5 separate regions of the Homo sapiens genome follow, and all the other regions are linked to region 3. The links are contacts of gene promoters, found by promoter capture Hi-C in blood cells and fetal thymus (Javierre and others, 2016). All regions are on one chromosome and are shown on one strand. The core of a region is centred on a gene start or on the middle of the fragment in contact, and the rest is flanking DNA. Distances in the headings are between cores, read along the strand shown. Region 1 overlaps CERS6 (ceramide synthase 6). Region 2 overlaps STK39 (serine/threonine kinase 39). Region 3 holds the start of CERS6 (ceramide synthase 6). Region 4 overlaps CERS6 (ceramide synthase 6). Region 5 overlaps CERS6 (ceramide synthase 6).

Region 1 (4,104 bases), core at 1,597-4,096, 210 kb after region 3:
GGGACTAAGTCTACACCTTAAGAGTGGCAGGGCAGTGAACTGGGAGGGTTACAAAAAAGGGGTCCCAATCCAGACCCCAAGAGAGTGTTCTTGGATCTTGTGCAAGAAAGAATTCAGGGTGAGTCCACAGTGCAAAGTGAAAGCAAGTTTATTAAGAATGTAAGGGAATAAAAGAATGGCTACTCCATAGACAGAGCAGCCCCAAGGGCTGCTGCTTGCCCATTTTTATGGTTACTTTTTGGTGATAGGCTAAACAAGGGGTGGATTATTCGTGGTTCCCTTTTTAGACCATATAGGGTAACTTCCTGATGTTGCCATGGCATTTGTAAACTGTCATGGTGCTGGTGGGAGTGTAGCAGTGAGGATGCCCAGAGGTCACTCTCATCACCATTTTGGCTTTGGTGGGTTTTGGCCAGCTCCTTTACTGCAAACTGTTTTATCAGCAACGTCTTTATGACCTGTATTTTGTGCTGACCTCCTATCTCATCCTGTGACTTAGAATGCCTTAACCGTCTGAGAGTGCAGCCCAGTAGGTTTCAGCCTCATTTTACCCAGCTCCTATTTAAGATGGAGTTACTCTGGTTCACACGCCTCTGACAGGAAGAACCCAGGTCCCTGATGACATCATGGTACTATGATACCTGCCCTGGATCACTGTCTCCAGGCTTTTTACAAAACAAATGAATGCCTACCTTGTCTTGAGCTTCTGTTTCTTTGAGTTTTTCTCTTCTTTGCAGCCAAATCTAACCTACACAAACACAGTTGCCACATCTTTTCTAGGATCCTTCAACAATCATATATGAGGTTTCTTGGCAGAAGTGAATGGAAAGGTAAATGAAAAGATGGTTTTTACTGGTAAACAGCCACAAATTCTACAAGTGTTCATTTTTCCTGAAGTGTATGAGTCTCTTAAGGTATTTAAATTTTAGACTTCCCATGATACTAGCTTCTGCTCTAGCATTTTATGAAAAAAAAAATAAGGAATTGAAATACGGTGGGTATAACATAAGTTATTTAAACATTTACTACCAATTACTTAAGTTTTTGCTTAGCAATAATTGTAATAAGAGGCTGCCTTTGCTGACTGAGCCAGGTAAGTGCTGTTTGTGGAAGCTCGTCCCATGGGAGATCTCATGGGACACACAGCACCCTCGGATGGTGGGAACTATTGTATCTCTCATTAACAGATGAGGAAATACTCCCCAGCCCTCCCTAGTAACCTAATCTCCCCCTTAACCTTCTCTTCATTTTCATTTTTCCAACATGCTCATCACCTTCTCTCTTACTGTATTTATCTGTTGATTTATTTTGCCTGCTCTGCACAGTAAAATAGAAGCTCTGTGAGGCCAAGTATCTTTACATGTTCACTGCTGTATACTACATACCTACAACAGTGACTGACATACAGTAGTCAGTAAACTCTCACTGAAATAAAACAAGATTATGCAACTAGTAAGTGAACGAACTACAGTTTGAGCCCAAGAGGTCTAGCTCAAGAAGTTATATACTCTGAATTATTATGGCATATTATCTTCCAAGCTGCTCACATTTTCTGTTGGCAAAGTGATGTTATTAAATAACTTGGAGGTTTTAAGAATTTTTTTAAAAAATTAGTAGACTGTGTGTGTGTGTGTGTGTGTGTGTGTGTGTGTGTGTGTAGTTTTAGGTTTAGAGAAAAATTGAATGGAAAATATGGAGTATTCCCATATACCCTTCACCCTGCCATCATCACCCCCTGACCCCTGCACTCCCCAGTTTTCCCTTTTATTTACATCTTGCATTATTAGTGGTACTTTTGTTACAGTTGATGAGCCAATATTAAAACACTATTGTTGGCTAAAGTGCATAGTTTACATTAAGGTTCACTCTTAGTGTTGTATATTCTATGGATCTGGACAAATGTATAATGACATGCATCCACCATTACACTGTCATGGAGAGTAGCATTGTTGCCTTAAAAATTTTCTTCTCTGCCTGTTCATCCCTTCCTTCCTCCCTAGACCTGGCAACCACTCATCTTCTTACTTTCTCCAAAGTTTTACCTTTTTCAGAATGTCATATAATTGGAATCATACAATATGTAGACTTTTCAGATTGGCCTCTTTCACTTAGTAGTATGCATTTAAGCTTCTTCCATGTCTGTTTTGTGGTTTGATGGCTCACTTCTTTTCTTCTTACCTCTGAATCATATTCCATTGTGTGTATATACCACAGTGTATTCATCTGACAGACATCTTGGTTGCTTCAATATTTTGGTATAAACATTTATGTGAATGTTTTCATGTGGGCGTGAGTCTTCAGTTCATTTGGATAAATACCAAGGAGTGTGATTGCTAGGTCAAACAATATTCATTTTCACTGTGTCTTTATAAAGGGCCTGCATTGAGAACCCACATTGAGAAGCAGTTTAAATTTGAGTGAGGCATGCATGAGTGGTGCCACGTTTCCTTTTTCAGGTTCTCCTCTCTTGGAGTCTCCTAAAACCATATTCCAATGCTGTGTATAAAAGGCCTGAGATATTCATAAACTAAGAAGACACTGTTTCTCAAGGGCTCAAACGAGTTCTCATGCTGTCAGCATGTCATAATATTAATAATGCATATCTTGTGTTTATATTGTGCTATATCATGCCAGTTAAGAGGTAATCTACATACATTTGATAATCTTTGTTAATTCTCACCAAAAATAAGATTTATGTCACAAAAAGCTGGCAAAAGTTTTCACATATGACATGGATAAGGCTCCTCTGTTTTCTACACTATAGCTTGTCATTATTTTATTTTTTCTTTTCATTATAAATTAAGCAAAGCAATATATTTCGGATTGGGATTTTCTGTGTTTAACAGGTGGATGTTCCATGCTGTCCTAGTGACATTTAGAAAACCTTTAAGCAGGAAAACCCCAGATCTTATCTGCCCGTGCACTTTGTCAGTTTCTTGCACAGGCGAGGGTGAACAAGTAGCACAGCATCTCAGTTCTGTTTTATAGGTAAAGTGGCCATTGTGTTCTGGTGGCTTAGAGAGGTTTCCTGTAGTGCTTTTCTTTATCCACCCAAGCCCAGCCCTGCCTCTTGAGCCTTCTTCCATGTCACACTCTCCTGCCTGCCTTTACCAAATGTGAGCTATCAATTCTGCACTCGATATGTTTTGTCACATGAAATAAAAGTTATCAGAGACTTGAGTGCATTTGTTCCTCTTTTCTTATATAAAGCTCTCTGCTTCTGTTGGCTATTAGGCGGCTTTTTTTCTATCTTTTTTTTTAAATATGTTCTCTCTAATGGATGACACTACTGCATTATTCACCCAGCCCTGACAACTCGGAGTCATCATTGATTCCTTTCTGTGTTCCAGATAAGGAAAATGGAGGAAGCAAAAATACAGGTATCGGGTGTGAGCCTCCGTTAATTAAGTATTGGTGTGCTTATCAGTTTTAATTTACTACATCCAAGATAATAGGCTAGACCTTCAAATAGTTCTGTCTAGTATGGGAGGCAGACAGGTGAACAGATATTTAAAGTAAAATGGATACATATTGTGAAAGAAATATGCATGGAGGGACCTTCTGTGAAGCTTGTTTGGGGGAACCTCTGAACAGTCATGTGTGACTTGAGCATAATATTTGTATTTGGTGGGGCCTTGTAGGCAGAGACAGAGATGTTAACAGACAAATCTGAAAAAGTAGGTGGAGGGCAGATCGTAAGTTGTAAATCGATTTGAGGTTGAAATCATGATAAGGAGCCCGGGCTTTATTGAGTAATTGGTGTGGAATCAACAGATGTTTTTCAAATGCAGAAGAACAAGTGAACCTGGATTACCAGCCTCTTTTCTGATTTTCTTCTTGACTTTGCATTGTATCCCATAGGTAATCTCAAATGTTCTTCAATGACAAAACCAAACTCATTCTCTTTCCTAACCCCATTATTCCTACTCTGATTTTCCTCATCTTATTTATGGTCTCACCATCTGCAGCAGTCACCCAAGCTAGAGATCTTGGGATCATATTTACCTCCTCTTTATCCATTATTCCATGGTCAACAAGACAGCATGTCCTAAGGAGTCCTTCTGTGAATGGAGCTTTAGTTCATTGCTTGCACTCCATTTCCAA
Region 2 (4,339 bases), core at 1,702-4,201, 210 kb before region 3:
AGAATGGAAAAAAGGAACCTGGTTAGGAAATTATTACAATAATCCAAATAAGAATCGATAAGGGCCTGAACTAAACCAGTGGTGGCTGACATGAAGAGTCAGAGTCAAATCAAAGAAGATCTCAAGGAGGTGGAGTATTTAGGACTTGGTGACCAAACAGATGTGAGAGATGGACAAAGACAGGAAAGTATAGGATGGCCAGCAGGTTTTGCCCTTGAGGGCTCTAAAGATGATGAATATAGAAGAAACAAGATTAGGACTGAGGCCAGGGTGGAGAGACAATGAGTTTAACTGTATGAAGTTCCTGTGAAACATTCAAACGAAGACATTAAAAAGGTAGTCCAAACACTGGTATACAGTCAGGAAGACCCTCAGCATTTGATGTGGTAATTGAAGCTTCAGACAGACAGAGATGTGGATCTGGGGCAGGCAAGGGAGTACAGGAAGTCCAGAAGGAAGGCATGGCATGGAAGCTCAAGCAAATGCCTTTCCAAAAGGAGAATGAAAGATGGCACCTAACCCTGCAGAGAGCAGAGAAAAGGACTGCAGTGTCCACTGGCTCTGGCCACAGAAGAGTCACAGTGATTTCAGAGAGTAACTTGGGTTTCTTAGGGAAAGGGCAGAAGCCAGACTGCAGTGGGCTGAGAGGGAATGGGAGGTTCCTTCCAACAATTTAGCAGTGAAAGGAAGAAACGAGATAACCGAGTAGCCAGAGGAGAAAGAAGTAGGGAGAGTGTTTTGTTTTGTTCTCTTTTGTCATTTAAACATAAGAGACAGGCTTGAGAATATTTATAAACTGAGGGAAAAGCAAAGAGGGAAAGAAGGAGACAGGGAAGCAATGGTGATGACTTTATCTGAAAATGAAGGCCTCTGTCCTCGCACTGGCTGGGACACACAGGGAGCGTTTCTTTTAGTCAGCAGCATTTCCTGCCAGCATGGCAGCCTCCGGGCAAACTCAGAGGTGGAGGAAAAGTGCAGTCCTAGCAGGTTGTTCTCGGAGCCCTCTCATAATGGGCTGCTCCTCTTCAGCAACCTTCCCGCAGGATGCTCTCATCACTTGTCAGAGGGCCATTTGGCACCTAAACCCCTGAGCTGTCCAAATTGCCAGGAGCTCCACAGGTCTCTTCAGTTTCCTCCCACAGCAGTGGAGGTGCAAGGGGAAGCCAGATCCCCAGGGGCCTCTCCCCTTGTAAGCCCCTTCCAGCAGCCCAGCACAAGAGTGGGAATAGGGAACAACCTCTCTTTCCCACTTCCTCCCTGCTAGAAACATAGCACAGAAATCTTCAAGCCACTCCAGAATCCTGCCAAAGATAGGACTGTGTTCTCTCCTGATAACTTGCATCTGATTAGCAAATGAAGTCTATAGAAGTTATGGCTAAGACTAATTGAAAGCATGCTGTGTGCCAGGCACGATTCTCAGTGCTTTACATTCTCTCATTCCTCACAACCCTATTTTTATCATCCCTATGTTACCAATGAGGAAACTGAGTGCAGACACATCTAAGTCATTTGCTCAAGGTCGCAGCGTCAGTGACCGCCATTGCAGGACATGAAACAGGCCAGGCTGTCAGACTCCAGAGCCGGCACTGCTGCAACTTATTTTCAAACACCATCACAAAATGTACTATACAATAAACCATAAAAGTCAGGGAAGAATTCATAATATCACTAGTTAAAAATCAAATGCATAAATAAAGGATTGCAGTCACTTTACCACAGTTTCAAGAGAGATCTTGAGATCTCTCCCCCCAGCCCCATGACAGCACATTTAAAAGAGTATTTATCTTGTAAATATAATTAATGCTACTGAATTGCACACTTTAAGAACGGTTAAAATGGTACAATTTTTGTTGTGTATATTTTACCACAATAAAAATAATACAAAAGAGGCCGGGCACAGTGACTCACGCTGTAATCCCAGCAACTTGGGAGGCTGAGGCAGGCGGGTTACTTCAGACCAGGAGTTTGTGACCAGCCTGGCCAACATGGTGAAACCCTGTTTCTATCAAAAAATACAAAAATTAGCCAGGCCTGTAATACTAGCTACTCGGGAGGCTGAGGCAGGAGAACTGCTTGGACCTAGGAGGCAGAGGCTGCAGTGAACTGAGATGGCGCCACTGCAATCTAGCCCAGGCAACAGAGCAAGACTCTTACAAAAAAAAAAAAAAATATATATATATATATATATATATATATATATATATAAAGAGGCCAGGCACAGTGGCTCACGCCTGTAATCCCAACACATTGGGAAGCCAAGGCCGGAGCATCGCTGAGCGGAGGAGTTCAAGAGCAGCTTGGGCAACATAGTGAGACCCCCATTTCTTAAAAATAAAAAAAGAAAAAAAAAATTAGGCAGGCATGATGGTTTGCACCTATAGACCCAGCTACTCAGGAGGCTGATGTGGGAAGATCACTTGAGCCCAAGAGTTCGAGGCTGCAGTGAGGTATGATTGCACCACTGCACTCTAGCCTGGGTGACAGAGTGAGACCCTTTATCAAAAAAAAAAAAATACAAAATACAAAAGAACATTTCTATATACATTTTTCTATTTATTAAAAAAGAAAGTGAAATGAAATGAAAATCAAAGCCCTGTCTTGAGACAAAGCATTTCAGACATCATTTAGTATTTTAAAAACAACAACAAACAAACTAATCAAGATCAAAGAACCCACTGCAGCAGCAAGGCAGCCTGGTATAAAGGTCTGGGAGATCAGAACACACTCAGTGCTCCGGCTCCCTTACCCTAGCGCCAGCGAAGGTACCACTGTCCTCAAACTGCCTCTAGGATATCTATAAAAACCAATTCTAACCCCCAAACCATAGAAATCCACAGAAACTCTGAGAGCACAGAGCAAAGTGGGAATGCCCAGGGCTATTTACAATCTCATTTTACAAGAGGCTGTTGCTCCTTAAAGACCTGGCCATATGTGCTATTACCTGGACCTGAGTAAAACGCACCTGAATGGATAAACAATGCCTCACAGGAGAGAAATAAAGCATTCAAAGGAACCCTCTGTCAAACCATGTCCAGGATTCTAGAACTCAAATTCTTCGTGTTGACTAAGATGGCAATTTGTTACTTTTAGGTCATTCTAAATGACCACCCGGGACAAAAGTGAAGCAATGCTGAGAAATCTAGTATAAAACTACATAAAGAAAGGTGCATCCTGCAAAAACCCTAAGAAAATCAAACAAACTCCTGCTGAGGCAGGAGTCTAGGGTTTCTCAGAAGAAATTCAGCAAAGATAACAACATTGCTGGAATCACCTAATTCAAATACAGAAATTAGTACTTCAATGACTACAATTCTTTGAATGAGAAGTTCATTGAGGCTGCTCCATTCCATTACGGATGGCCAAGTAAACACTTATATGATTCACTTTCATTCCCTGTTTAGCAAATCTAGGTAATATTATTAACACCCCCAACAAATAAACTAAGTTTTCAACTGGCATAGCTTTAAGTGCCCCTTATACTTCTAAAGGTAGGGGTACCTACTTTTGGGGGCTCAACTCACCCCCAAATTCCTTCTTTAGAGAGGTAAGGAACAAAGATTAACAAGGCTGAAGAGTATAAACAGGTCGGAAAGCCTCCAAAAAGACAGAAATATTTGAAATCTACTAAGACAAGGATATCAATGTCTGGAAGAAGGAATTTAATAATTTCCAACATTTTTAACCCCTCTGTAAATATAAAGCTCCCTCCCATCGATTTTACATCATTTCCAGGTCATGAATAAACTTATGAACCAGAATACTCCTAAGAGCATTACAATTTCTCCACTGACGTTTTAAAACACAAGAACAACAATACAATAAAGAGAAAACTTTATTTTTAGGTTTGCAAAATCCTGTGTTTATTTTTCTAAAACTGAAGTCAAACAACTGAACCTGCTTTGTTTGGATTTTAGTAAACTTATTCTCTCTTAATCCTGGGGGACCAAACTCTGCCCAGAAGGAAATGAAGAAAAAGTCCTCCGTGCCCGTGCCATGCTGGAAAGTTAAAACACGGTGCCTCCTTTGGTTTTCTGTTCAGGCACATCTGAGCCTCCTGCTGCTGGTCACGGTTCACACTGCTGGAGTCATATCATATGACACCTGCCGTATGGCGGGTAGAAGCAAAGGCTGTCAACTGGCATTCATGTTGAAACTGGTTCAGTGTTTGAACTGCTAACTTCTGCGTGTAATGTTTAAGCAAAAGTGCTTAACCACAAGTTCAGTCTTAATCTCTCAACTAGCATTAAACCCTAAATGGAAACAGGTTTGTAATTCCTTATAAACATTAAGCCCTTGCGAAAAACCTATTCCAGCAATTTGATTTTTCAATAACAGGGCC
Region 3 (4,351 bases), core at 150-2,649:
AAATTCTGCTGTTTAAGCCACCTAGTCTAAGCAGCCTGGACTAAGATAAGAACTGACCTTTGTGTTTAGCAGCATGAAGATCACAGGTGACCTTGGGCAGTTTCAATGCAGCAGAGGAGACAAATGTCCAAATGGAAGTTCAAAAGAAAATGAGGGGAGAGAAATTGGAAGCACCAGTATAGGCCATTCTTCAGTTTCACTTTCAAGAGATAGAGTGGAAAGAGGGGAGGGAAGAGTAAAAGAAACTCCCTCTCTCTGTGTGTGTGTGTGTGTGTGTGTGTGCGGTTATATGCCCACTGGAAAGGTTTAGTATAGCCTACTGGCAGCACCAGGCAGAAAATGAATGTGAGAAAAATGAACAAAAATGCCCCAGAACCATGTATACATGGGCCATGGAATGAATTCACACATGGCTCCTGTATCAATGGGGAAATGCATTGCGGGAGGGAAGGTGCCTGGGTTAGGCCTCACAGGCCTAATGCCTTAAAGGTTTTAGATTCAAAAGGCAGAAATAATGAGCCTGCCGAGTAGCACAGTGGAGGTTCTCATGATGTGCCAGGTCAAAATGTGGTCTAGCAGCCTTTTCAGAGAGGTTAGTTGAGAGGGGTGGTTTTACAGAACGCTGCAGTTGCTATCATCATCATCATCATCATCATCATCGTCATCAAGTAGCAATTAATAATCAAATAGCAATTAAGTGCCTAATTTTTTGTACCACCTCATAAATCAATATAGGGGGGCTTGTTCCCTGGGGGAGCTACTTTGATGAGAAGCAGCAGTATAAAAGACCGGAAAGTCAAAGATTGGGGAAAGGCAGGCGTGGGGCAGAGGCAGAAGGCTCTTGCCAAACCATCCTGCCTCAGTTCCTGATTTTTCACCCTGCCTCTCCAAGCGCGGGAGTGGAGGATCCTTTCCCTCCCACTTCCTCCTTTGCTCTTTACCCCTCCCCCTCCCCCCCCCTTTTTTTTTTTTTGCTGTCCTCCTGGAGCAGGGCTGGTTCTGAAGCTTGGCGGCAGCCCCTACCTGCTGACCCACCGCCTCCGGGCGCACGGGAAGAGGACTGAGAGCCCTGAAACCCCAGCGGGGCAGGAGCCAGCATTCTGAGCATGTGCGAGCCAGCCAGGGGGCTAGGGCGGATTTGGGGGGTCGACTTTAGGTCGTCGCCCTAAGCGCAAAGCGAAAGAGCGGTGAGAGCAGGGGCGGGCGACACTCCCCGGAGCGGTGCCCCTGCGCCCAGGGCGCAGCGACTGCGCCCTGCCCTGCGGGTGTGGGCGAGTTGGCCGCGTGTGTGCCTCGCTGTTTGACGCGAAGACGAGCCAATCAGGGCGGGCGGCCCGAGCTGCCATGTGACGGGCAAGGCGGCCCCTTTCCCCAGCGCGGCCAGAGGGAGGAGAGAACCGGGGCTCGCCGCGAGCCTTCGAGAGCAGCGGCCGCGGAGGAGGCGGCGGCGGCGGGCGGGAGCAGCGGCGGCGGCGGCACAGGCTCGGGGCCAGCCGGGCGCGCATCCCCGGGCGCCCTGCGCGGTGGAGAGCTTGGCGGGCTGCGGGTGCCGCAGGACAGGAGTGGACAAAGCAAGATGGCAGGGATCTTAGCCTGGTTCTGGAACGAGAGGTTTTGGCTCCCGCACAATGTCACCTGGGCGGACCTGAAGAACACGGAGGAGGCCACCTTCCCGCAGGCTGAGGACCTCTATCTCGCTTTTCCCCTGGCCTTCTGTATCTTCATGGTGCGGCTCATCTTCGAGAGGTAAGAAGGGCTGAAGCCCCTCCTCCCCTCCCCCTGCGCACACACACGCGCGCACACACTCGCGCGCTCTCTGGCGCACGCCCCCGCGCCCCCAACGCTCGCGTTCACGCCTCCCAACCTTTGTGTTCGGGGAGGGGTTGCTGACCCCCCTGCCCCGCTGGCTTTCTGGGAGCCAGAAAGGGTCTGGCTTGCCACGGATTTCCTCCCGGGCGCCGGGGAGGAGCCGCGGAGCGTTAGGGTCGCCCCCTGCCCTCCTCCTGGGCCCTGCTCTCCTCCCGGCAAGGGCAGGCGAACAAAGGTGAGCGGTGGTCGGGCTCAGGACCCGCCGCATTCCGCGGGGCTCGCCCCTCTCCGCCGGCGCGCCACGCAAGGCTGCCAGGCAGGGCTTCCCGCCGGGGCCCGCGCCACCCACCTGACAGCCAGGAACGTTCCGGACGCGCGGCCCGGAGGGAGGAGGAACCGCGCACACTTCAATCTTTATGCTCCGGCACACGGATTGTAGGGGTTGTGCTTCAAAAGAATTCGCCAGGGACTTCCTGGCTTCTGGTCGCTGTTTGGTTTTTATCCGTGAAACTATCAGGCCCACAGTCCTGGCAAATAGGGGATAATAGCATTTCAGGTTATTAGCGGTTTCTTTAAAAGAGGATGTGACAGGACGGGTCCACATCCTGCAAAATGGTGATATTAAACTGATAACCCTGTCCTGTGAATAATCATAAACTTCTTTTTTGGTACTCGAAGGCACTTAAAATTTTGAGGAATTGTCATGCAATTGTATAGTTCCTCGGTTTGGTTGGATATCTCCATTGTGTCACATACAAACTTGTGTTATTCTCATGGAATTCGTTTTCGTCGCGAAACTAGATTGTGCCTGCCATGCATTCTCTGGGTGCTACTGAAAGAAAACCAGGACAGCAGCACACTTTTTTTTTCGTAACAGAAAATATTATCTTCCCCTTTCTTGTACCCTCCCCTTCCTCTGCCCAATTCATCAGTAAAGGCTGAATTTCTTAGATCACAAAGTAGAGTTTAGATTGCATTTCTCGCTTCCACTCCGCCTTTCTTCCCCGCCTTCAACTCACCTTGGTTTTGTTTCTTAAGCTTTTGCTGGTACCTCATTTGCTGTTCCTCTTTGCCTGAAAACGACTGTTGAGGGTGGCAGAACGCGTCTTTTGAGTCATTTGCTGCTGGACGAGGCAACAAAGCTTCATGGGGACAAAAAGTATCTTTTGTCTCAGGAAGGTATATTTTTCACCGGACAGTATTGTTGCTTGAAAACGAAGTCAGCTGTTCGCCTGCAGAAATTGACATGCACAAAGCAACAGACTTTAAGACCTATGTTTAAATTATTGGAATCTAATACAGATGTGTCATTGATCCTATACAAAAAAGGATCAAAAAAGTCACAGCAGTGCTGTGAAAAAATGGGTGTGTTTGCAGGTGTAGAGTTACCTCTAGAGCAAATGTTTGGTTACAGAAAATATGAACTCTATACAGTTTTGCAGGCTCTCCAAAAACAAGCAGACTCAGGGATAGCAGGTTTGCTCTATGTTGGCACATAGTAGGGGATCTACACACAATTGCTGAATTATGATAAATTGTGTCTGATAAATTCTGGCTGGGCTCACTTTTAGATAGATAATGCATTTGAAAGAGATGTGCAGTCTTATGTGTTGGAGAACAAAAGCATGATCTGTGCACAAACAGCCGAATTTTCCTGACATCCTCCTTCTCTATGCTGATTCCAGGCTGTTCACTGTGTTTAAAAAAATTAAGTTGTTAGAATGGAGATGGCTTTGTACTTAGATTGTCTCTGCCTCTAAAAAGATAAACACTAATGTGATAGTTGAAAACTGGAAGTTCATTTTTCCTCTTTCTAAACATTTTTTATTTTCTTTCTTTTTTTCCATAATCCCATGACTCGACTTAGAGTTTACATAGAGGGGTGAGCTGCTTTCAATTGTCAGTCACAGCAAATGTCCTCATATTGATATAAAGTGAGTTGGTCAGTTTCCTTCAGGCCATTGATCTAAGTAGAAGAGATTTAATGGCCTGTATGGAAAGTGAAAGTTTATGGTTAATGTTCAGAATAATAATCCAATATGGCACATATGTCACAGAATGCTACTGACTTTTGGAAGACTATCTACTTTGTTTCTTCCTATGATAGCTCTGTCTTTAACCATTCAGACCTTCTCAATTCTCTGAAAATCCACAATTTAGTTGTATCTAGAGTTAGAAGTTCTGCATGTTTCTCCTCTTCTCAAACCTAAATGACATATTCTGGGATCCAACCTGTGACCTTCATCTCAGTAGCATCCATCAAGGGCCTGAATCAATAAAACAGAACCATTCAGTATTATCACTGCTACAACTCACATTCAATGGCCTTCTAGCATTTTGTATATACATCCTTTTCTTTTGCAGTATTCTATAATGTATACGATGATTTTAAAAGCCTGTTGTGAATCCCTTTGTAGAATGAAATGCTTTTGTAATAGGAATAATTCTCTCAAGATTCTTCTCTTTGTATGCTTTGTCATTTATTTCAAAGCTGAGACCATACCTAAGAAATACCCGATTATCCAAGTCTTTATTTTACATT
Region 4 (3,939 bases), core at 1,435-3,934, 140 kb after region 3:
TAGCACTTTGGGAGGCTAAGGCAGGTGGATTGCTTGAGCCCAGGAGTTTGAGACCAGCCTGTGCAACATAGGGAGACTCCTGTCTCTACCAAAACAAATAAATTAGCCGGGCATGGTGGCATGTGCCTGTGGTCCCAGTTACTAGGGAGACTGAGGCAGGAGGATTGGTTGAGCCTGGGAGGTTGAGGTTGTGGTGAGCTGTGATCATGCCACTGCACTCCAGCCTCAATGACAGAGTGAGACCCTGTCTCAAAAAAAATTATTCATTTAAAAAATATTTACTACATGCCTGCCTGCCCCAAGCATTGTCTAGTCTCTGGGATACCTCCTTTCCACCCCAGTGTAAGTCCTGCTTACCCTTCAAAGCCCAACTCAGGTCATGTTATTACCATGAGCCCTTTCTACTATTCTTTCTCACGTGAATCTCTCCAGAGATTCTTCCCTGAGCCCCTGTGGAACTAATAATGAGCACTGCTAATTTTAGCCATTAGCCACTCTTTAGAATTATTCTCTACTTGTTTCATGTATCTTAATGTTTGTTTTTCCCCCAGCTAGACTGCCTGTGTATTCGGGCTGTGTTCAGTGAATGTATGGTGGTTTGCTGATTGATTCAAAGTGAATCTGAAGAATACACTTCCTTTCTTTGAGATTAAGAGAATTGCCTAGTGCTGTTTCAGGGCTGTGAGGATGCAGGTGCACTGGCTTGCAGCTGACTCTTAGGTACAGGAAGGCATCATGAAGGAAAGTGACCATTGTCCTCTATTGGAGTTTAGCCCTCTGTCTTGAAGAGACAGAAGCACCCTAACACTCAAAGCAGTTCATGGTTGCTTTTAAAAAAGTTTGCAGGGCCCAATTTCTGTGGCTTTTACTGGGGGAAGCATTACATAAGAGGACAAGGAGCACATGTATCCTATGCAGTGCTACAGAATAATTCCACTCCCAGCTCCTGACTTTCAGATGGTGAGATGTTTGGGAGAATATTTTCAGTCTGAAGAAAGTATTATTTATTGTTTAGTCTGAGCTTTTAGCCCACACTTCCCTTTCATGTGGTTTTTGCTTGAGAGTTCTTGGACCAAGGTTAGATTGAATGTTGAGACACTTTGGGGAGTGTAAAAATCAATGATTGAAAGAAAAGGTATAAATACCACAATTGCATTCATTCCTTTATCTCTTTATTCTCTTTTTTAATCCTGAATCTCCTTACATTGGATTATGTATAATACCAATTTTAATTGGCTGATTTTAGTGACAGCATTAAAATGTAAACTTAAATTTAAGGCTGATGGTACTTACGAAGAGTATCTCTCATTTAACATTTTCATTATACATTCAGATGTATTGCAGCAAATTGTAATGGTTTGAATTGATATCATCTTTACCTTGTCTTTATACAGACATCAAATAACATCTAATGTTTGACTCACATGAATATTGCCTTATAATTGGAAAAAAGTTATGTTGCTGTTTACATAGTTATTTAAGATTTGTGGAGATCAAAAAGAAGAATTGTATGTTTTTTTTCTTTTTGGCAGACCTTATTGTTCAATGTAAGTAGACTTAAGCGGACTTCATATTTTCTTCCAGATGTAAAGGAAAGGTGCCCAAATTGGCAAGACGTTAAAAATTATTATTAGGCCAGGCGTGGTGGCTCACGCCTGTAATTCCAGCACTTTGGGAGGCCAAGGCAGGAGGATCATGTGAGCCCAGGAGTTCAAGACCAGCCTGGGCAACAAAGCGAGACCCTGTCTCAAAAAAAAAAAAAAGGATAAAAATAAAAATTATCATTAAACTGCCAAAATTCAATATTTGTTTGTAAATGTTTATGCATCTGGCTAGTAGACTTGGATCCTAGTCATGAACCACAAAGAGAAGAGGTTCTGTGGTTATAAGATGAGTGGCTTTGGTTTTGGATCTTATTGAGGGTACCAAGTTTATTGCTGATCACAGGGTCATGTGGAATGGGACCTCAATAGGGTGGAGACCAGATTATGTGTGTGGGCGGGGGATTGGGGGGAGGGGTTGTTGTCTTCTTGGTGTAGTTTTTACTGGGCTTCCCAGCCTCCTTCCAGAAATTGTTCAGGGAAATGTAGATGAATGGCTTTGGCAGAACGTAACATGAGTGGGAAAATGTGAGATTAAAAGAAAAGCTTATATTCAGTACAGTGGCTTTTTTACTTGCCTTCATTCATTAAATCATTGTTTCAGGGCCCCATCCCCCCCCCTTTTTTTTTTTTTTTTGAGACTGAGTCTCACTCTATCATCCAAACTAGAGTGTAGTAGTGCAATCTTGGCTCACTGTAACTTCCACCTCCCTGGTTCAAGTGGTTCTCCTGCCTCAGCTTCCCGAGTAGCTGGGATTACAGGTGCGTGCCACCATACCCGGCAAATTTGTTGGTGTTTTTAATAGAGATGGGGTTTCACCATGTTGGCCAGGCTGATCATGAACGCTTGGCGTCCCAAAGTGCTGGAATTACAGGTGTGAACCACCATGCCCGGCTCCCATCCCTTTGTTGATGCACAAAATTTGGAGTTAAGAGCAAATGCTCTTAGAGTTCATGAAACTTTTTGTTTGCTCTAATATAAACTGAATTCAAGAATCCTTTTATTGTAGCAAAAGTGCATATACTCTACCTATTCTCTCTAAAAATACAATACTGTGTTCATGGCGTCTTTCCTGCTTCTTGAACTCCAATTGGTGAACATTGAAGTCAATATTCTGACTAATCTCTGACTCACTTTCACACTGCTATGAGTTTAGCTTTGTCGTGTCAGGCCCCTATTGACTTCAGTAGGGATGGCGCCAGGTTTGAGGCTGAAGAAGAGACCTGGAGCCAGTGAACAAGACATAGGGTTTTATTGGAGGGAACTTACATACAGGGACAGTCTGGTGGCAGCAGGCTTGACAGTAGAGCATTATTTATTATATAAATTGCATGCTTGTAAAAAGTATACAATTTATATAATATTTAAAGCACCCTCTAACAACCTCTGCCTGGCAACCTCCACTTAATCCAAAACAAAGAGGATCTTTCCCCTGCACACTCTCATTCCATGGACAGGCCAGGGGTTCAGATGTTCCACATAAATAAGTAATGAATCTGTCGGATGACCACTCCCGGATTCCTTAGCTCAGAACTCTGAAGACACATTCAGGTGTGTCTGCCTTACAGGGTCATTCTCAGGGTATGCTTAAGATATTGCCGTCAGGTGCATCTGCCATACAAGCTTCTACTTTTTTCAATTCCCAGATAACCATAGATGGTTGAAGGTAGGGTGCCCTTAGCTATAAGACACATCCTCCAGTTTCCCAATGATACAAAATATTCTGGGGCCACCTTGAATATGTAAAGTTTTAGAGATGAAACAATTGATATGTATATTAATAACATTAATATGTTTATTTAGACATAATGCTTTTCCTATTTACTTTCATGAAATAATTTATTCAAAGCCTGTATTTGCACCTTTGACATCATGTCTTTGTCAGAGGAGCTACCTCAGAGTCATCTAGGACAGTGTGCCAGAGTGCCTTCTCTTCCCTCCCGTCTAAATTGCATAGACTTTAATGTGTTTGGAATCCATGTAAGAAGTTATTTCTGTAAATGTTAACTCAGGCCTTAGCACTCTTTGCCTCTCTTTCAGACTTTTTTTTGTCCTTTATCTATAGGTGTATGTTGAGGATCTTCCACGTGTAACTCTTTTCTGTCCTCCCCTTAAGAGGGATCTTTAAAAGGTTTGTTTACAGTGATATCTAATACAAACAATTATGAAGTCACCACCCTAGAGATAATGCCTTAAGTATTTGTTAAATTTCTTTGCTCCCTTAGAATAGCTGCTTCCATCAGCTGACCTTCTTGAGCATCTCAAACTGGCATTGATTGAAGTTGTTTCAGATTTGAGTGTCTTCAAGGAATACTTCTTTGTTCTAAATAAAGTGCT
Region 5 (4,184 bases), core at 744-3,243, 160 kb after region 3:
TACAGTCTTTTTCGGTCAAACAAATCCTGAGAGAATTTGCCATTACCAAGCCAGCACTTCAGGAACTGCTAAAAGGAGCTCTAAATTTTGAAACAAATTCTGGAAACACATCAAAACAGAACCTCTTTAAAGCATAAATCTCACAGGATCTATAAAACAAAAATACAATTTAGGAAAAAAAAATAAAAATCCAAGGTATACAGGCAATAAATAGCATAATGAATGCAATAGTACCTCACATCTCAATACTAACATTGAATGTAAATGGCCTAAGTGCTCCACTTAAAAGATACGGAATGGCAGAATGGAGAAGAATTCACCAACCAACTATTGCTGCCTTCAAGAGACTTACCTAATACATAAGGACTCACATAAACTTAAGGTAAAGGAGTGGAAAAAGACTTTCCATGCAAATGGACACCAAAAGCGAGCAGGAGTAGCTATTCTTATATTAGACAAAACAAACTTTAAAGCAACAGCAGTTAAAAAAGACAAAGAGGAACATTATATAATGATAAAAGGCCTTGTCCAACAGGAAAATGTCACAATTCTAAATATTTATGCACCTTACACTGGAGCTCCCAAATTTATAAACAGTTACTACTAGACCTAAGAAACGAGATAGATGGCAACACAGTAATAGTGGGGACTTCAGTACTTCACTGACAGCATTAGACAGGTCATCAAGACAGAAAGTCAACAAAGAAACAATGTATTTTTACTATACCCTGGAACAAATGGACTTAATAGATATTTACACAACATGCTACCCAACAACCACAGAATATGCATTTGATTCATCAGCACATGGAACCTTCTCCAAGACAGACCATATGATAGGCCACAAAAGTCTCAATAAATTTAAGGAAATTGAAATTATATCAAACATTCTCTGAGACCACAGCAGAATAAAAGTGGAAATCAACTCCAAAAGGAACCTTCAAAACCATGCAAATACATGGATATTAAATAACCTGCTCCTGAATGATCATTGGGTCAGAAATGAAATCAAGACGGAAATTTAAAAATTCTTCAAACTGAATGACAATAGTGGCTCAACCTGTCAAAACCTCTGGGATACAGCAAAGGTGGTGCTAAGAGGAAGGTTCATAGCCCTAAATGCCTACATCAAAAAGTCTGAAAGAGCACACACGGACATTCTGAGATCACACTTCAAGGAACTGGAGTAGCAAGAACAAACCAAACCCAAACCCAGCAGAAGAAAGGAAATAACCAGAATCAGAGCAGAACTAAATGAAATTGAAACAAAAAAAATTGCAAAAGATAAATGAAATAAAATGTTGGTTATTTGGAAAGATAAAGAAAATTAATAGACCATTAGCAAGATTAACCAAGAAAGGAAGAGAGAAAATCCAAATAAGTTCAATTAGAAATGAAACAGGAGGTATTACAACTGACACTACAGAAATACAAAAGATCATTCAAGGCTACTATAAACACCTCTACACCCGTAAACCAGAAAACCTAGAGGAGATAGATAAATTCCTGGAAAGATACAACCCTCCTAGCTTAAATCAGGAAGAATTAGACACCCTGAACGGACCAATAACAAGCAGTGAGATTCAAATGGTAATTAAAAGCTTAGCAACAAAAAAAAGTCCAAGACCAGATGGATTCACAGCTGAATTCTACCAGACATTCAAAGTACGATTGGTACCAATCCTATTGACTCTATTCCACAAGGTAGAGAAAGAAGGAATTCTCCCTAAATCATTCTGTGAAGCCAGTGTCACCCTAATACCAAAACCAAGAAAGGACATAACCAAAAAAGAAAACTACAGACCAATATCCCTGATGAACATACATGCAAAAATCCTTAACAAAGTACTAGCTAACCAAATCCAACAACATGTCAAAAAGATAATCCAGCATAATCAAGTGAGTTTCATACCAGGGATACAGGAGTGGTTTAACATACATCAGTCAATAAATGTGATACAACACATAAACAGAATAAAAACAAAAATCACACGATCATCTCAATAGACCAAGAAAAAGCATTTGACAAAATCCAGCATGGCTTTATGTTTAAAACCCTTAGCAAAATTGGCATTCAGCAGACATACCTGAATGTAAGAAAAGCCATCTATGATAAACCCAGAGCCAAAATAATACTGAATGGGGAAAAGTTGAAAGCATTCCCTCTGAAAACAGGAACAAGGCAAGGATGCCCACTTTCACCACTTCTCTTCAACATAGTACTGGAATCCAAGCCAGAGCCATCAGACAAGAGAAAGAAATAAAAGGCATCCAAATCAGTCACAAGGAAGTCAAACTGTGGCTGTTTGCTGATGATATGATTATATACCTGGAAAACCCTAAAGACTCCTCCAAAAAGCTCCTAGAACTGATAAAAAATTCAGCAAAGCTTCTGGATACAAAATTAATGTACACAAGTCAGTAACTCTCGTATACACCAACAGCGACCAAGTGGAGAATCAAATGAAGAAATCAACCCCTTTTACAGTAGCTGCAAAAAGAATAAAATACTTAGGAATATATCTAACCAAGAAGGTGAAAGACCTCTACAAGGAAAACTGCAAAACACTGCTGAAGTAAATCATAGATGACATAAGCAAATGGAAACACATCTCATGCTCATGGGTGGGTAGAATAAATATTGTGAAAATGACCATACTGCCAAAAGCAATCTACAAATTCAGTGCAATTTCCATCAAAATACTACCATCATTCTTAACAGAACTAGAAAAGCAATCCTAAAATTTATATGGAACCAAAAAAGAGCCTACATAGCCAAAGCAAGACTATGCAAAAGAACAAATCTGGAGGCTTCAAACTATACTATAAGGCCATAGTCACCAAAACAGCATGGTACTGGTATAAAAATAGATACATAGACCAATGGAACAGAACAGAGAACCAGAAATAAAGCCAAATACTTACAGCCAACTTATCTTCAACAAAGGAAACAAAAACATAAAGTGGGGAAAGGACACCCTATTCAACAAATAGTGCTGGGATAATTGGGAAGCCACATGTAGGAGAATGAAACTGGATCCTCATCTCTCATCTACAAAACTCAATTCAAGATGGATGAAGGACTTAAATCTAAGACCTGAAACTTAAAAATTCCAGAAGATAACATTGGAAAAACCCTTCTAGACATTGGCTTAAGCAAGTTTTTCATGACCAAGAACCTAAAAGCAAATGCAGAAAAAACAGAGAAATGGCTGGGACTTAATTAAACTAAAGAACTTTTGCATGGCAAAAGGAAGTCAGCAGAGTAAATAGAGCACCCACAGAGTGGGAGAAAATCTTCGCAATCTATACATCTGACAAAGGACTAACATCCAGAATCTAAAAAGAACTCAAACAAATCAGCAAGAAAAAAAAATCAAACAATCCCATCAAAAAGTGGGTTAAGGACATTAATAGAGAATTCTCAAAAGAAGATATACAAATGGCCAACAAACAGGAAAAAATGCTCAACATCACTAATGATCAGGGAAATGCAAATCAAAACCACAATGTGATACCACCTTATTCCTGCAAGAATGGCCATAATAAAATCAAAAAGTAATAGACGTTGAGATGGATGCGGTGAATAGGGAACACCTCTGCACAGCTAGTGGGAATGTAAACTATTATAGCCACTATGGTAAAGAACTAAAAGTAGAACCATTTGATCCAGCAATCCCATTACTGGGTATCTACCCAAGGAAAAGAAGTCATTATGTGAAAAAGATACTTGCACACTCATGTTTATAGCTGCACAATTCACAATTGTGAAAATGTGGAACCAGCCCAAATGCCCATCAATCAACAAAGTGGACACAGTTTATTTATCCCCTCGTTGATTGATGGGCATTTGGGCTGGTTCCACAATCCATACACACACACACACACACACACACACACACACACACACACACACACACATATTTATATATATATGATCTAATACTACTCAGCCATAAAAAGAAATGAATTAATGACATTTGCAGCAACCTGGATGAGATTGGAGACTATTATTCTAAGTGAAGTAACTCAGGAATGGAAAACCAAACATCGTATGTTCTAACTTATAAGTGGAAGCTATGCGGATGCAAAGGCATAAGAATGACACAATAGATTTTGGGGACTCAGGGAAAGGATGGGAAGGGTGTGAGGGATAAAAGACTACAAATTGGGTTCAGTGTATA

Evidence for each region. Contacts are between HindIII fragments. The CHiCAGO score rates a contact against its expected background, and 5 or more counts as called.
Region 1: a fragment that was not itself captured here is called in contact with the fragment with the promoter of CERS6 in region 3 in 16 of 17 cell types (activated CD4 T cells, naive B cells, fetal thymus and 13 more); the score reaches 15.2 in activated CD4 T cells.
Region 2: a contact is called between a fragment that was not itself captured here and the fragment with the promoter of CERS6 in region 3, in 2 of 17 cell types (fetal thymus and activated CD4 T cells). The highest score is 9.2, in fetal thymus.
Region 4: a contact is called between a fragment that was not itself captured here and the fragment with the promoter of CERS6 in region 3, in 9 of 17 cell types (naive B cells, activated CD4 T cells, total B cells and 6 more). The highest score is 10.3, in naive B cells.
Region 5: a fragment that was not itself captured here is called in contact with the fragment with the promoter of CERS6 in region 3 in 2 of 17 cell types (non-activated CD4 T cells and naive B cells); the score reaches 5.8 in non-activated CD4 T cells.

Annotation. Positions count from the first base shown.
Region 1 is chr2:168,664,334-168,668,437 of GRCh38, forward strand. All of the region lies in intron 4 of CERS6 (ceramide synthase 6), which reads left to right. Among named protein-coding and RNA genes, the nearest start is that of MIR4774, 83 kb to the left of the region's middle. The HindIII fragment of the contact is 1,442 bases long and covers 2,126-3,567 here.
Region 2 is chr2:168,240,393-168,244,731 of GRCh38, forward strand. All of the region lies in intron 1 of STK39 (serine/threonine kinase 39), which reads right to left. Among named protein-coding and RNA genes, the nearest start is that of STK39, 5.0 kb to the right of the region's middle. The HindIII fragment of the contact is 5,114 bases long and covers 395-4,339 here.
Region 3 is chr2:168,454,873-168,459,223 of GRCh38, forward strand. It overlaps CERS6 (ceramide synthase 6), which reads left to right and starts at 1,400. Exons shown (of 10, transcript NM_203463.3): 1 at 1,400-1,746. The coding sequence starts at 1,577. LOC102724081 (a long non-coding RNA gene) reads right to left here. Exons shown (of 4, transcript XR_002959433.2): 1 at 2,159-4,351. RefSeq lists silencers at 992-1,211, 1,242-1,331, 1,452-1,581, 2,032-2,091. The HindIII fragment of the contact is 1,842 bases long and covers 1,004-2,845 here.
Region 4 is chr2:168,594,334-168,598,272 of GRCh38, forward strand. All of the region lies in intron 3 of CERS6 (ceramide synthase 6), which reads left to right. Among named protein-coding and RNA genes, the nearest start is that of MIR4774, 13 kb to the left of the region's middle. The HindIII fragment of the contact is 1,078 bases long and covers 2,146-3,223 here.
Region 5 is chr2:168,616,143-168,620,326 of GRCh38, forward strand. All of the region lies in intron 3 of CERS6 (ceramide synthase 6), which reads left to right. Among named protein-coding and RNA genes, the nearest start is that of MIR4774, 35 kb to the left of the region's middle. The HindIII fragment of the contact is 788 bases long and covers 1,600-2,387 here.